Regions from separate parts of the Homo sapiens genome. Here regions 2 and 3 are each linked to region 1. The links are contacts of gene promoters, found by promoter capture Hi-C in blood cells and fetal thymus (Javierre and others, 2016). All regions are on one chromosome and are shown on one strand. Each heading gives the region's core, a stretch centred on a gene start or on the middle of the fragment in contact. The rest is flanking DNA. Distances are from core to core; before and after follow the strand shown.

The links. Contacts are between HindIII fragments. The CHiCAGO score rates a contact against its expected background, and 5 or more counts as called.
Region 2: a contact is called between the fragment with the promoter of CDC37L1 here and the fragment with the promoter of SMARCA2 in region 1, in 2 of 17 cell types (fetal thymus and non-activated CD4 T cells). The highest score is 7.9, in fetal thymus.
Region 3: a contact is called between a fragment that was not itself captured here and the fragment with the promoter of SMARCA2 in region 1, in 1 of 17 cell types (neutrophils). The highest score is 6.2, in neutrophils.

The regions. Positions count from the first base shown.
Region 1 is chr9:2,012,079-2,017,038 of GRCh38, forward strand. SMARCA2 (SWI/SNF related BAF chromatin remodeling complex subunit ATPase 2) reads left to right here and starts at 3,269. Exons shown (of 34, transcript NM_003070.5): 1 at 3,269-3,326. RefSeq lists enhancers at 429-558, 2,769-2,818, 2,879-2,928, 3,715-4,271 and silencers at 2,979-3,318, 4,459-4,628, 4,929-4,960. The HindIII fragment of the contact is 4,329 bases long and covers 2,453-4,960 here.
Region 2 is chr9:4,678,222-4,683,266 of GRCh38, forward strand. CDC37L1 (cell division cycle 37 like 1, HSP90 cochaperone) reads left to right here and starts at 1,348. Exons shown (of 7, transcript NM_017913.4): 1 at 1,348-1,678. The coding sequence starts at 1,547. It overlaps CDC37L1-DT (CDC37L1 divergent transcript), which reads right to left and starts at 1,259. Exons shown (of 2, transcript NR_121598.1): 1 at 1,166-1,259. RefSeq lists an enhancer at 1,482-1,571. The HindIII fragment of the contact is 3,086 bases long and covers 4-3,089 here.
Region 3 is chr9:4,795,900-4,800,748 of GRCh38, forward strand. The region is part of intron 1 of RCL1 (RNA terminal phosphate cyclase like 1); the gene reads left to right. Among named protein-coding and RNA genes, the nearest start is that of RCL1, 5.4 kb to the left of the region's middle. RefSeq lists enhancers at 2,390-2,684, 2,419-2,468. The HindIII fragment of the contact is 8,229 bases long and covers 1-4,849 here.

The DNA of each region.
Region 1 (4,960 bases), core at 2,019-4,518:
AAAGGAGAGAGAGGAGTGTTTATTTCTGTAATAAATTTACTTGTTAATTCTAAACTATTCTTTAAATTAAATGTCAGCTGATTCAATTTGTCAAATCTTGGTTTCCATTACTGAAGATGAAATACTCACTGCCTAAACGGTCTTACCTGCTCGTGTTTGAAGCTAGGCAACATTTCAGGCAGCATTAACAGTTTGTCTGTTGGGACTAGAAGCTTCCTAACGTTGTGCATGGAATTTTTCTTTATGAGGGTGTTGTATCCAGATACCAAGTTTTAAACCCAGTATCTACTCTATACAGAATGTAACCAAAGCAGACTTACATAACAAGTGAATGTGGCCATACAGACATGAAAAAGTGACTTCTATCTTTTGATACCAAACTAGAAAGAGAAAAGCAAGTTCAGAGAACACATTATGACTCATCAAAGTCCAAAAAGAAAAGCTGCGTGTGAACGTAGCACCCTGTGCAGCCTCCTGGAGTCCTTTTACCCTCCAACCACATTTGCTTTTGTATGATTTTCTGCAAAACAAAACAAAAAAAACCCATCATTTTCCTCCTTAACTTCAATTGTTAAATTTCGTTTTACCTCAGAGGTGAAACTCATGCTATATGTTCTACAATCTTCTTTTTGTACCAAGTGAATGACGCTGCCTTTTCATTTCTCCTGTGTTGAGGCCTTATTTTATAAAATTCGTAACTGCTAGGGTACAAACTACAAACAAGACGAATTTTTAGAGGAACAACTTGAAGGGTGATGGGGGAAGGTGGTGCTTTCTTAGACCAATGCGAAGGGAGAGGGAGATGCAATATCTATATTTAATCTCTGTTCCCAACGATGTATTTTAATTCCCATAGCTGTGTGTATACAATGCGTGGATACCAACGCCTCCAAGGACAACATCAAAATTTTATATGAGCTGAAGAATATACACATATAACAAAGGGAATGTTTTCTTCTTTACTTTCCCTGTGACAAAATGCCAGAAGGAATGGACAGTTTCTTTCTCCAGGGACTTACTAATTGATTTGTTTTTGTTTTTGTTTTTTTGAGGATTTGCATGGCAAGTGGAAGTAGAATCTTAAGGGGATAAAGGGCATTTATTCACAAGGGAATAAAAGTGAAGTTATCAATTTCTGAAAATTGGCATGTGAGGCCGGCATGCCAGAGAAACAAATTAGACCCCAAAAAAATTAAAACCTAATACTCTCAATGTAATAAGCATTGCTATTAGGTTAAATCTCTTTATTAGAGACAGGTAGGTTATCTGGCTATATTATTAGTTGCGACTTATTAGGCAGTTAGAAGTTAGTATTTATGTTACACTTTTACTATACTACTAGTCTTGTTTAAAATTTCTCCCTATATATTTCTCAGTTAATAGTTATACCGGCATATCCTCAGGCAGAAAAACAAGTTCTTACAATGGATCCTTCAGGGCACACTATATTCTATTTCTCTTAGCTGTGTTATCTTTCGTTGTCTTGAGGTTCACTTCAAGATAGACAGAAAATGATGAAGCTAAAGTTAACAAGCAAGTAGCAAGACCTTAGAAAGCTATAGGGTGGGTGATCACCAACACTCCCAGCCATCATGAAAATGCTGCCCTAGTGGGCTCTGCTTCAGCCAGCAGTGGACCAGTGATATAAAGAATTCTTGCTTCTTAATGACTACATGGCAGTATTTGGCGTTCTTTCCATTACTTCTTGTCTTCAACTTATCCAGCCTGAAGTTTTAAGCATCCTAGAACTGCATTTCAGACCCAGTTGCTCAAATGGAGTCAATTTTGCAACAGTAAAATGGTCTTAAAATAGGATTTTACTCTAGGGGGAAGAATCCTCAACCAGATAGTCACAGTGCACTTTGAATGACTAATTTAAGCCATTACATTACGAAATAAGGGATAAATCATACTTTTCATAACACTACTGCATAGGAACAGTTTTAAGAGTCAAGCATCTACATTAATCTGAGTCTAAAATAATAGGCCCCTGATTTAAAGTCTCCTAACATTCTTTCACACTTCATAAAACTAAAAATAAAATTGTCTCACCAAACACCGACCTATTGGTCCGGCCAAAGTACTGTATTTCAAGGAAAATTGGAGCAAAGAGGTCTCAAAACCGCGACTTGCCAGCAAATTACAATTTGCAGCCTTAATTGGTCTCAAATGCGGGGTGAGAGGGAAGAGACTACGGTCTGTAGAAAATAAGAGATTTATTCCCCTTTTTAAATCAAAACCAGATTCCATGCTTCAGCCGCCCCCTAACCCGCCAGCCCCGCCCCCAGGGTTTGTTTTTCCATATTTTTGTATATATTTTAGCGAAGATGGCAGGTGAGGGAAGGTTATAGTGCTGTACCTAGTCCACGAAGTAAACAGAGAGGTTAGGGTGGGTTTACTTATTTATAAGGCGTTCAGCCTCTCAGCTGTTTCTCCCTCGTTGGCATTTGGAAGCTTGCAGTCCTTCAGGGAAGAGACAGATTTGGCAGGAACGTTCTTTGTGCCCGCCTCCCTTTTCTATTTTTTATTTTTTTACCTGGAATAGGGGGCAGATTTATAATGACAGCCTTAGGGAAGGGGGAGAAAAAGTTTCAGCCGGCACGACAATGCCCGTTTTTTCCACAGTCCACACTGTGCCACAAACAGCTTTGGTGCCACTCGGAGCCCGTCCCCCGTCCCCTCCCTCTCTCTCTGCAGGCTCGCACTGGCAGGCGGAGGCACAGTTAAATTCCAGCACCTTCTCCACATACCCCCGAACTACTACGCGCTATTACTACGGCTGCCCTCCGTTTTCGCTTCGCCTCCTCCCCTTCCGCAGTCTCCCTGGAGGAGCCCCGCGGCGCCCGAGGAAGAGGACTGCCAGGGAAGGGACAGCGGGCGCCCAGCTCCAGCAGGGCTTGGGGCTTTCTGCATCCCGCGCAGTTTCTCTGCTCCAGGCACAAACGCGGCCCGAGAGCCGGCGCCTTGCAGTCACACACGGATCCACGCATACAGTAGAGCTGTCTAGATCCACATTCTTGCACACCGCCCCCTCCTCCCCCCGCGCTCCCGGAGTCGCTGAGCTGAGCGAGTGACAGGCGCGTCCCGCCAACCCGCGCCCGGACGGGCAGGGAGGAGCGGCGCGCGGGGCCAACTGCGGCGCGTCTTCCGGCGCCCGCGGAGGAGGCGAGGGTGGGACGCTGGGCGGAGCCCGAGTTTAGGAAGAGGAGGGGACGGCTGTCATCAATGAAGTCATATTCATAATCTAGTCCTCTCTCCCTCTGTTTCTGTACTCTGGGTGACTCAGAGAGGGAAGAGATTCAGCCAGCACACTCCTCGCGAGCAAGGTAAATATAACTTACAACTCTTTTCTCCTCTTTCCCCTCCCTTCGGCCGCCCCGCTGCAGCCGCCGCTCAGACCCCTCCGGCACCACGCCGCCTTCGCCCGGGATTATCCATTATTATCCTAATTATTATTTATTGTGCATGCAAGGAGACCAAAACAAACAGGCGGGCCAACCGCCGCGACAAAAAAAAGCCCGCCTCCTCCCCGCGGGCCTCAGGTGGAATGCTCTAACGACAGCTCCCAGGCGGCGGTGGAAGAAACGAGAAAGTTTCAACCGAACCTTGCTGTTCTAATAATAACAGTAATAATTACTACTTCAAGGGGGCAAAGGAGGAAAAAAATCCCAACAAGCCACAGCCTTGATCCTGAGTGGGCAGTCAGAGGCGCTGCCAACTCAAGGTTGCAACACACACATTGGGCCAGGTTGCAATCCCCCCATCCCCTTAAAAGTGAGGCGGCGGGGAGGGGGGTGGCCGCAGGAGGGGGAAGGCCTGGGGGACAGGGGAGGAGGATGGAAACGCTACTGTTCATCCCGGGCAACCCTCCCCGGAAGAGTTGGAAGGGGAACGGGAAAGGAGGGCGGGGAGCCCAGGCTGGCGGCGGGGCGCCAACGGACGCTGTTGCCACCCGCTTCCCAGGGACTTGTTCAAAGGGCTCCGGCTGCGGAGACGTGAGCGGATCGCAGCGGGAGAAGCCTGAGCTGACGCGCGAAGGAGGTAGCGGCCACTGCCGCGGGGCCGGTGCGTGCCTGATCGGAGGTGTCACCTCCACTTTCCGCGTTTCCTCCGGCGTGGATGGGGAGGCTGATTGGTAGGCAGGCCTTTAGGCAAAGGGGCTGCCAGGGGGCTGCGCCCCGGGCGCTGCGGACGTCCCTGCCTCTGGTACCTGGCGGCAGCGCAGGCTCGGGTGTTAAAGTTCGGGATGTCCGGCCCGGGCCGCACTGCTGGAGGGAAGGGAGGAGGCCCCCAAGGAGGTCGGAGGTGCCCGCCAGCCTCCGTTACCCTGCCCTCCCTCTCCCCGGGTCCGTGTTCTTTTGCTTCGCGTCTTCCCCTTGCTTGCGCCGCGGGAGCTGCGGGCGTGGGGCGCCTGCGATCGTCCGGGTGCTAGGGGCGCGCCGGGACCCAGGAGAGCCACGGCGGCGGCTGCGGGCCCGGGAGGCCATGATCCGGATAATCCTGTCTGCCTGACTGTCACAAACAGGACCCGCGCACCACCGGGCAGCGGCGGTGTGGTTCGCCCGGGAAGGGGAAGGGCTGCGGTGGGGAGGGAATAGGGGGGTGGCGAGGGCGGGAGGCGGGGAGACCGGGTAGGAGCCTCCTCCCAACGATGACACGCACTCCTTCCTTCTCGCTCCCTGCTCAGGAGTTTGCTTTATTCCCATCCCAACCTGGTTTACCCCTTCCTTTGCTCTCCCCCTCCACCCGGCCGTCTTCCCTTCCTCCCGTTTGCGTTGCAAAACACGGCCATGCCATCTGCAAAGGTGTCGCGATGCACTTCCCTAAATAACCGGTCCGGCGCGCCAGCCCCTCGGCGCCCTCCGGCCGCAGGGCGCACACGGAGCACAGTGCTCCCGGTGCCCCGCACCAGGCCTCGCAGCCTGGGTGCAGTTACACGGCGGAGGGCGGGGCGCGGCAG
Region 2 (5,045 bases), core at 98-2,597, 2.7 Mb after region 1:
AGAAGCTTTCCTTCCTAGGCTCACCCACCAGAGGTAATCATTAACAGTTTCTTGCATATCCTCCAGGAATGTTCTGCGCAAACACACACACACACACACACACACACACACACACACACGGACGCAAACAAATACCATCCCTCTCTCTTCTCTCTCTGTATACGTACGCATATGTTTAATTCTGCAAGTTGCTTTGTTTAAAACTCAATACCTTTTGGAGGTATTTATATATCAGCATATTCAGATACAATTTACTTTTTTTAAAAAGGGTAATATGCCATTGTATTAATATTCCATACTTTAAGTTCCTCTATCGATGGACAATTAGAATGCTTTTTTTTTTCTTGCCACACACACACAAAAATTGCTGCCAGAAATCTTTGTAGTAAATCTTTGGATATTGGTGCAAAAATAATTGTTGCATACTTTCTTAGTGGTGAAATTGCTGAATCAATCCGCTCAAGCCTCTCATATTGTCAAATTACTCCTCCTAAAAGGTTATACTAATGACATTCTCACATCATTTCCTTACATCTTGGTACACATTTGGTATTAAGCGACTTCACAAGTTTGCCAGTCTAAACACATGGAAAAAAATGGCGTCATGTTGTTTTTATTTGGGTCTCTTTATGAGTAGGGCAGCAAGACCTGATTGTTAAACGTTCAAGTTTTGAAGTTAAACTCCCTGGGTCTGGATCCTACTTCTTCCTTGTAAAATGTGTGATCTCGGGCATGCTGGGTCTACTTCCTCGTCTCAAAAAAAGAGGATAAAGAGAGTACATATCTTTAGGCTTAAACAAGATACGCAGGCATACAGGAAGCCCTTCTTATGCGTTCGCTACTAGCGGTACTGATCCTAATTTTTTTGAAGCCGTGCCGGCTCCGGTACTTTATTTTTGGTGTGCTCCTCCAACCAACCAAGTTTCGCAGAATTCTGTTGTTGCCTGTAATTAGAAATGAGACGAAAATTGGCTCCGCTTGTTCAAAATTCTCCTCCCTCCGCCCCAACTCTGCCTTAGAATCACTGGTTTAAATGTCAATGTAAAGGAATGAGTTGCAATTTTTAAGCAACATGTAAAGTGCACACCTGGTCTGAGTACCTCCCGGCGGCCAGGACCCGCCGTTTTCGGTATAGGGAACACCAGATAACAATATATAACGCTACCTAACAAACGTTTCTCCACCCACAGCGCCATTAGCGGTTAGGTTTGCAGTGCCGAAGAGCTGCAAGAAAACGGGGCTTGAAACAGGAATACAATTGCAGATCCACCCACTACACGCAAAGGGCCCGGGACGCGCCTCCACAGCCCCGCCCCAACCGGAAGTGACGCACCGCGCCGACTATTTCTTCCGCCGTCCGCCGGTGGCGAGGCCCAGGCTGTCGCCGGGTGTGCAGCGGCGTCGCGGCCAGTAGAGGGATTCTGGGTAACGGCCCGGACCCCCGGCTGGGCTTCTGGCTCGGCGCAGCAGGTTCCATTCACGCCAAGTCTGTTGGCAGTGGCAGTTGTAGGGCCAAGGGCGGTTGTAGGACCCGGAGCAGCCGGACATGGAACAACCGTGGCCGCCTCCGGGACCCTGGAGCCTCCCTCGGGCCGAGGGTGAGGCTGAGGAAGAGAGTGACTTCGACGTGTTCCCCAGTTCTCCCCGCTGCCCGCAGCTGCCAGGCGGCGGCGCCCAGGTGAGAAGGGGCCTGCGTTCTGCGGAGGGATGGAGTGGTGCTGTCGCCAAACCCCTGGAATGCCGCGTCTCCCAGACCCTCTTCTACGCCTTTTTCTACGCCCACCTCACTGCCAGGGGCCGGGGACCTGGGACCTGACGCCTGATGCCATCCCACCCCTTTTATGGCATCTTCGGAGGGCAGACGGGGTGGCCATATATTACCAACCTCCACCTCCACGCACATGTTTTCTTTCGCCTTGGCTGATTCCTGTTCACTCTTGGAATACCTTCCTCCATCTCCCCTTCCTGACAGCACTCAGATTTGGGGCGGCTCATGCTGTAACATTGACCCTTTGTCCTCTTGTGAGAGGTTTTCCCCAAGCACTTTATTCTGTTAAAGGCTCTAGCATACTTGTGCACAGTTGCTAGGAACAGTGAATGATTGTAGTTCAGCATCACACTGAGTCCTGACAAAGATTTCACATGCGATTTTCACCGATGTTGACAACTGAGTAAATTCTTTAAATCTCGCTTTTGACGCTGGCGTACACCTCTCCCATTCGCGTGACCATCTTTGCCTTACTGTTTTGTTTTTTAGTTTTGCTTCACGTCATTCTCCAGTGAAAATATATACGCATATACTTGTGTTTTCCTTCAGACTTCTCTTAGGTTCCTGGTATTGTGTTTTCAATCCAGCATTCCTGCCTTCCTGCGACTGAAACGTATCCAAATGTGATATACTATTAAGGATTTTTCAGGGACCTATCTTAGGGGATACTTACATACTCGCATCACCTTGTCCTGTTTTTTTCTCCGAATCCGTGTGTGTTTTGGAAGTATATTTCAGAATCACAGACTAAACACTAATATATTCAATGGATCATAAGTGTCTGCCGCCTTCTTGCAAAATGGGGTTCCCAAGAGTGTAACAGATTTAATAGTAGTTTTCCTCTCAACTTATTTTGCTAGATGTTAATGAGAATGAGTTAAATTGCTTACCAGTAAGCGTGACATTATCAATCTTATGTCCAGCTAACAGGGTTAGTTGGCTTCACACAGAGAAAAATGCTGTTTCATAACCACTGTCTGTACTTTGGCCAGCTAAGTCACTGGGGAACTACAAGACATTTTTTAGGAGGACAGAATGAGAGTTGATGGGTCCATCATTAGTCACCCACTAATTTTGGATCACTAGTGTCATCTTTATATACAAAATGTATTATAAGCACATGATGTGCTAGGGAGGAAAGAAGAATGAACAGCAGATGCCATTGTCAATTTTGAAGGCATATGAAGAGAAAAAAGGGTGTCAAGAATTTCAGTGCATTGTGGTTGAATTACAGAAGTAATCTAGAGAAATATCTGTATGTTAATTTCTTACTTGTGCACTTCTAAATTTGTTTAGCTGGAAGAGATTTTAGAAGTGAGTAAGCTTATCTCTCTCATTAAAAGTGTTTTCCCTGAGGCCATGTAACTAGTTAGTGGCCAGGTTAAAACTAGAACCCACTTATGACTCCTAGTCCAGTATATTTTCCCACCTACTGCACTGCCCACCAGAGTTCGAGACCAGCCTGACCAACATGGAGAAACCCTGTCTCTACCAAAAATACAAAATCAGCCTGGTGTGGTGGCGCATGCCTGTGATCCCAGCTACTCGGGAGGCTGAGGCAGGAGAATTGTTGGAGGCAAAGGTTACAGTGAGCCGAGATCACACCATTGCATTCCAGCCTGGGCAACAAGAGCGAAACTCTTGTCTCAAAAAAAAAAATTTTTTTTGCAAACTGATTATTAATTCTGAGTTCATGTGTTTATTACAAACCTACTTATTGGTCTTACTGGCTTTAAGACTTAAATTTTTGGATTGGAATATTTGGAAAAAATAAAATGTTTAATTGATTAACATTTTATAATCCTAAAAAAAGCTTTGGCTTAATTTTATCAAATAAGGGGGATCTAGACTTCTTAATGTAGTATGTGATATGTAGTTCTTAGATCCAATTAATGTAAAGGCAGATCATGTTTAATGTCCCTCTAAAACTTCTGTATGGTCATGGATTAGAATGTGACCTAATATTTTATTTAATATCTGAATACATGTTGGATAGTTTGCCCAAATGGCCAAATGTTGTCTGGGTAGTTTGTGGAGAAATAAGACATACATTATTTTTAGAATTTTTCGATTTGAGAAAAGAATATTTGCTCCCAAATAATTTGAAAATGCAAGATAATTTCTATTTATCCATATTACCATATTACTTTTCTTGATATATTATCCTTTCTCTTTTTTTTTTTTTTTTTTTGAGGCAGTGTCTTGCTGTGTTGCCCAGGCTGGAGTGCAATGGCACGATATTGGCTCACCACAGCCTCCGCCTCCCAGGCTCATGTGATTCTCCTGCCTCAGCCTCCTGAGTAGCTGGGATTACAGGTGCCCACCACTGTGCCCAGCTAATTTTTTTTTTTTTTTGAGATGGAGTCTCGCTGTGTCACCCAGGCTGGAGTGCAGTGGTGCAATCTCGGCTCACTGCAACCTCTGCCATTCTGGGTTCATGCCATTCTCCTGCCTTAGCCTCCCAAGTAGCTGGGACTACAGGCACCCGCCACCATGCCCGGCTAATTTTTTGTATTTTTAGTAGAGATGAGGTTTCACCACGTTAGCCAGGATGGTCTCGAGCTCCTCCTCGTGATCCGCCCGCCTCGGCCTCCTGAAGTGCTGGGATTACAGGTGTAAGCCACCACTCCCGGCCATGCCCAGCTAAGTTTTAAAATATTTTTAGTAGAAACGGGGTTTCGCCATGTTGGCCAAGCTGGTTTCGAACTCCTGACCTCAGGTAATCCGCCCGCCTCAGCCTCCCAAAGTGCTGGGATTACAGGCGTGAGCCACTGAGCCCAGCCAAAAGAAGTTTTATATACAAAAGTTCTTACATCTTTTCTTACAAAATAAGTTATATAGCTTAATTTTTCTCCTTTTCCTGGCTCTGTTTTAAGCATAGCTAGTCTACAGTTATTCTTGATCCTATTCTAAGATAACTATTCTTGATCCTATTCTAAGATAACAAAAAGTAAAAATAAATATTTTATTTTAAAATATTATATTTTATATTAAAATATTTTATATTAAAATATAATATATATATTAAATATATATTATATTTATATATAAAATATATTTTAAAATATATTTTAAAATATACTTTATATATTTTATATATATATTTTATTTTTATATATAAAATATATTTTATATATATTTTATAATATATGAATATATATTATAAAATATACTTAGGGACATGGTTTATAGTACCTTGGCTCCAAACCTGCTGAATGAGTAAATAAAACATCTGAATAGCAAGTGTCCACATTTGTCCCAGTACAAACGTGAGTTT
Region 3 (4,849 bases), core at 1,122-3,621, 2.8 Mb after region 1:
GATGTTACTAAGTTTGAGTAACTTGAAGTAGGAAGGATTGAGTATTGTACAGGGGCTCAGTGGAGTTCAGAGCAGACACTTCCCTGAAAGTTACGAAGGAAGGCAGGTTTTCTGGACCTGATCTGGACAGATAGGATTGAGATGGTGGCTGCGGAAATCATTGTTTGCAAAATAAACAGTTCTTTTTTTAAAGAAATTTTATTTTAGAGTCGGGGGTACATGTGCATGTTTGTTACATGGATATATTGCCTACTGGTGGGGACTGGGCTTCTGGTGTACCCATTATCCAAATAGTGAACATCGTACCCAATAGGTAATTTTTCAATCTCCCTCAATCTTCCTCCTTTTCCAGTCCCCAATGTTTGTTATTTCCATGTTTAAGTCCATGTGTATCCATTGTTCAGCTCCCACTTATAAGTAAGAACATGGAGTATTTGATTTTCTGTTTCTGAATTAGTTCTCTTAGGATAATGGCCTCTAGCTCCATGTTGTTGCAAAGGACATTATTTCATTCTTTTTTTTGAGACAGAGTCTCACTCTGTCATGAGTGCAGTGGTGTGATCATGGCTCACTGTAGCCTCAACCTCTTGGGCTCAGGTGATCCTCTCACGTTAGCTTCCTGAGTAGCTGGAACTACAGATGTGTACCACAGCATCTAGTTGATTTTTAAAATTTTTTTTGTAGAGATGGGGTGTTGTCTATGTTGCCGAGGCTGGTCTTGAACTCCTGGACTCAAGCAGTCGTCCTGCCTCAGCCTTCCAAATTGCTGGGATTACAGGCATGAATAACCATGCCCAGCCTGATTTCATTCTTTTTTATGGCTGTGTAGTATTCCATAGTGTATATATACCACATTTTCTTTATCTAGTCAACCATTGGTGGACACTTAGGTTAGTTCCATCACTTTGGTATTGTGAATAGTGCTGCAATAAACATACAAGTACAGGTGCCTTTTTTGTATAATGATGTCTTTTCCTCTGGGTAGATACCCAGTAGTGGAATTGCTGGGCCATATGGTAGTTCTATTTTTAGTTCTTTGAGAAATCTCCATATGAAAGAAACAGTTTTTAAGTCAAAAAGTTCTTTATTTTCTTTATTTTACTGAGGTAAAATCCTTAATTTGTCATGGTCATAATACTTGGCAATTAAGAGCTTGGGGTCAGTATTGGACCTTGGTTTGAGTACGAGTTCTGCCTTTCGCTATTAGCTCTTGGTCCTTGGGCAAATTATTTTAACTATTCTCTTCTGAGCCTCAACTTTTTCACCTGTAAAGTGGGGCCAGTACTACTGACTTCACAGGGTTATTGTGAGGACTAAATGAAATAATACTTCAAAGTGTACTGAACAGTGCCTGGCACATAGGAAGAATAAATGTTAGCTGATTTTATTATTATGTAGCTTGAACCCACTGGGTATAGGTCTGCTCCCTGGCATGCCAAATCCGTTCCTGCTTCTATATGGAAATTTTTCAGATATTTGAAGAGAATTATGCCTTCTGTAAAGTTCTTCTCCTAGGTGGTTGTTTCCACGTATTTCTATGTTATATGTAAAGCACAGTAGTTTTCAACCAGGGGCACTTTTGTTCAGTGGGGGACATTTGGGAGCATTTGGAGACATTTTTGGTTGTCACAGCTTGGCAGAGGGGAATGCTACTGGCCTCTAGTGGTTAGAATCCAAGGGTGCTGCTAAATATCCTACAGGACAGCCTCCCACAACAAAGAATTATCCATTCAAAATGTCAGTAGTGCTGATGTAGAAAAACCCTGGCCTACTTGACAGTAGTAATTAAACCTTTTCTTTTCCCTGTATCCCTAATGATTAGGAATAGCAGCATGTGACACCAAGAAGACTACACAAGGATTTAGAAACAAATGAGACACAGATCAAACTCTGTGACTTCAGGCAAATCATTGAATCTCTTAAAACTGTCCCCTTCCATTGCAAAGGGGTTGTAAATACTGAAAGGAATCTGAACCCCAAAGAAGGATGGTCCCGGGCTGGTGATTATAATTGTCCAGCCACATGTATAATTTATGCTTCCGTTTTGAGGAACATGAACAATTAAGTTTATCTCATTGTACTCTTCCTTTCATTGAAGAGGAAGTAAATATTTTTTCTTGTTGCTGCTGTTTTACTCAAGGTAAAAAAGCCAACCCGTAGTTAGGTAAGATAGTTGGTGAAGACAAACGTGTAGTGAGGGACAGAGCTGGAAAGAGAATGTGGCCAGCTCCTGCCTGAAGGACCTGTTCTCTCTCATTTCACAGCGTGATGGACCTGGGTGTTCCTCATCAGTATTATAAAGCAGCTGTCCAAAGTGCCTCTATCTCTGGATTTCATGAGGACTGTGTCCTGCAGGGTTCAGTTTAACAGTCTCTGTATAATGTGAGGTCTAAATGGAAGAGAATCCCACCAGAATAATTGTTTAAAGTTGGAATAGCAGAAATAATGGACTTGAACAAGAGCAGTGACATAGGAGTCAGAAGACAGGACTGCTACTACCCAGGATCCTGAGCAGGTCATGTAACTAAGCCTTAGTGTCTTCCCCTGTGAAATTGAGAGGAGTTACTTGGTCCCATGGGGGAGTGCTCCATATGGCTTAAGCAGATAAGATTCTGAAAAAGAAGAGCTAAGTGGAGTTTTAATCAAAAGGGTCCTTTAAAATGTGCTGAGGAAGCATGCCACAAAGAGGTCCTTTGAAAGGTAAAACATGTTTTGGTAAACCAGTGCATTGTTTTGGGAATAAATCTGGCTGTTCCTAACTTGGATCCTTTAAAAGGAGGATGTGCCTATATTTTATTTCGGCCTGGTTTGGGACCCAGAATTCTTGATGGACAACTGGTTTTGGGGCGTAACAGATAACTTTACTACTAACTGTAGATTGAATATGTCCTGTTAATCAGGAACATACCCTTTTGTGCCTCTGATGACAAAGTATGCTTCCAAGTGATGATTTTTGGCTGCCCAAAATAAGACTTCTTCTTTTTTTTTTTTTTTTTTTAAAGGCAAATGCCAAGAATCCTAATGACCAGTTTTCAGATACAGTGTTGTTTGGAAGCTGTTGTATAAATGCCTTGCCTTTTCTTTTCTTTTCTTTTCCTCTCTCCCTCCCCTTCCCTCCCTCCCTGTCTTCTTTCCCCCTTCCCCCCTCTCTCCCTCCCCCATCCCTCTCCCCCTCCTTCTCTCCTTCCCTCCCCTTCCTCTCCTTCCTCTTTTTCTCCCTCCCTTCCTTCCTCTCTTTCTCTTTTCTTCTTTTTCTTAGAGATGGGATCTCACTATGTTGATCAGAGTGATCTCAAACTACTGGCGTCCAGTGAGCCTTCTGCCTAACTGTCCCAAAGTGCTGAGATTACAGGCAAGAGCCACAGTGCCTGGCCGTAAGTGCTACTTCAGATGGAACTATCTACCATCTTTTTTAAGAAAACAAACTTTTTATTTTGAGATAATCGTAGATTCACATGCAGTTGTAATAAATAATGCAGAAAGATCCTGTCTGTACTTTATCCAGTTTCCCCCAATGGTGATATATGGAAAAACTATGGTACAATGTTAGAACTAGGATATTGACATTGATACAGTGAGATACAGAACATTTCTGTCACTCCAAGGATTCTTCATGTCTGTTGCTCTTTTGTAGCCACACTCAGTTTCCTCCTTCCCCCACTTCTTCCTTAACCCTTGTCAGTCTCTAATCTGTTCTTTAATTTCTGTAATTTTGTCATTTGAAGACTGCTCCATAAATGGAATCATATAGTATGTAACCTTTGGATTGGCTTTTTTCTGTTTTCTTAAATTTTATATTATAAATTAAAAAAATTTTTAAAAAGAAAAAACTTGAAGGGCCTTGAATGAGTCCTGTATTTTTATTTTTTGTCACTACCTCCCTGGGTTGGGAGTGGGTAATTTGCATGCTTGCTACCTTCCTTGGATGTGGTAGCCATTTCTCAGACTCTGACTCTGGAATCAAACCCTGATTCCCTGTCACCCATGGTCACCGTGGTAGGCATGGTGACTATCATCAAAAGTTGATATGGCAGACGTTCATATGGGTTGTTGCTGCCACATGGGAGTGTGTGATTAGCCTGAGGTTATCTAGAGTCACTATAAGGACTGGCTTTTTTTCAGTCAGCATGATTCTCTGGAGATTTATCTAAGATGTTTTTATCAAGTTTGTTCCCTTTTGTTGCTGAGTAGTATTTCATGGTATGAAAAGATCACAAGTCTTTTTATTTACCTGTTGAAAAACATGTAGGTTGTTTCCAGTTTTTGGCTATCTCGAATAAGGCTGCTATAAAAATTTGTGGACAGGTTTTTCTTTTTTTTTTTATTTTTATTTTTTATGGTGTCTAGCTCTGTTGCCCAGGCTGGAGTGCAGTGGCACGATCTTGGCTCACTGCACCCTCCCACTCCCGGGTTCAGGCGATTCTCCCACCTCAGCTTCCCGAGTAGCTGGGATTACAGGCACCCACCACCATGCCCAGATAATTTTTGTATTTTTAGTAGAGACGGGGTTTCGGCACGTTGGCCAGGCTGGTCTCGAACTCCTGATCTTAGGTGATCCACCCACCTCAGCCTCCCAAAGTGCTGGGATTACAGGTGTGCACCACCATGCCCAGCCAGGTTTTTTTATTTTTTTATGTGAACATAGTCTTCCTTTCTCTGGAATAAATGCCCAGGAGTGCTCTTGCAGGGTTGTATGGTAGTTGCATGTTTAGTTTTTTAAGATATTGCTGCCCTGTTTTCCAGTGTGGATGTATTTTTTTTTTTTTTTTTTGAGATGGAATCTCGCTCTGACTTCCAGGCTGGAATGCAGTGATGTGATCTTGGCTCACTGCAACCTCCGCCTCCCAGG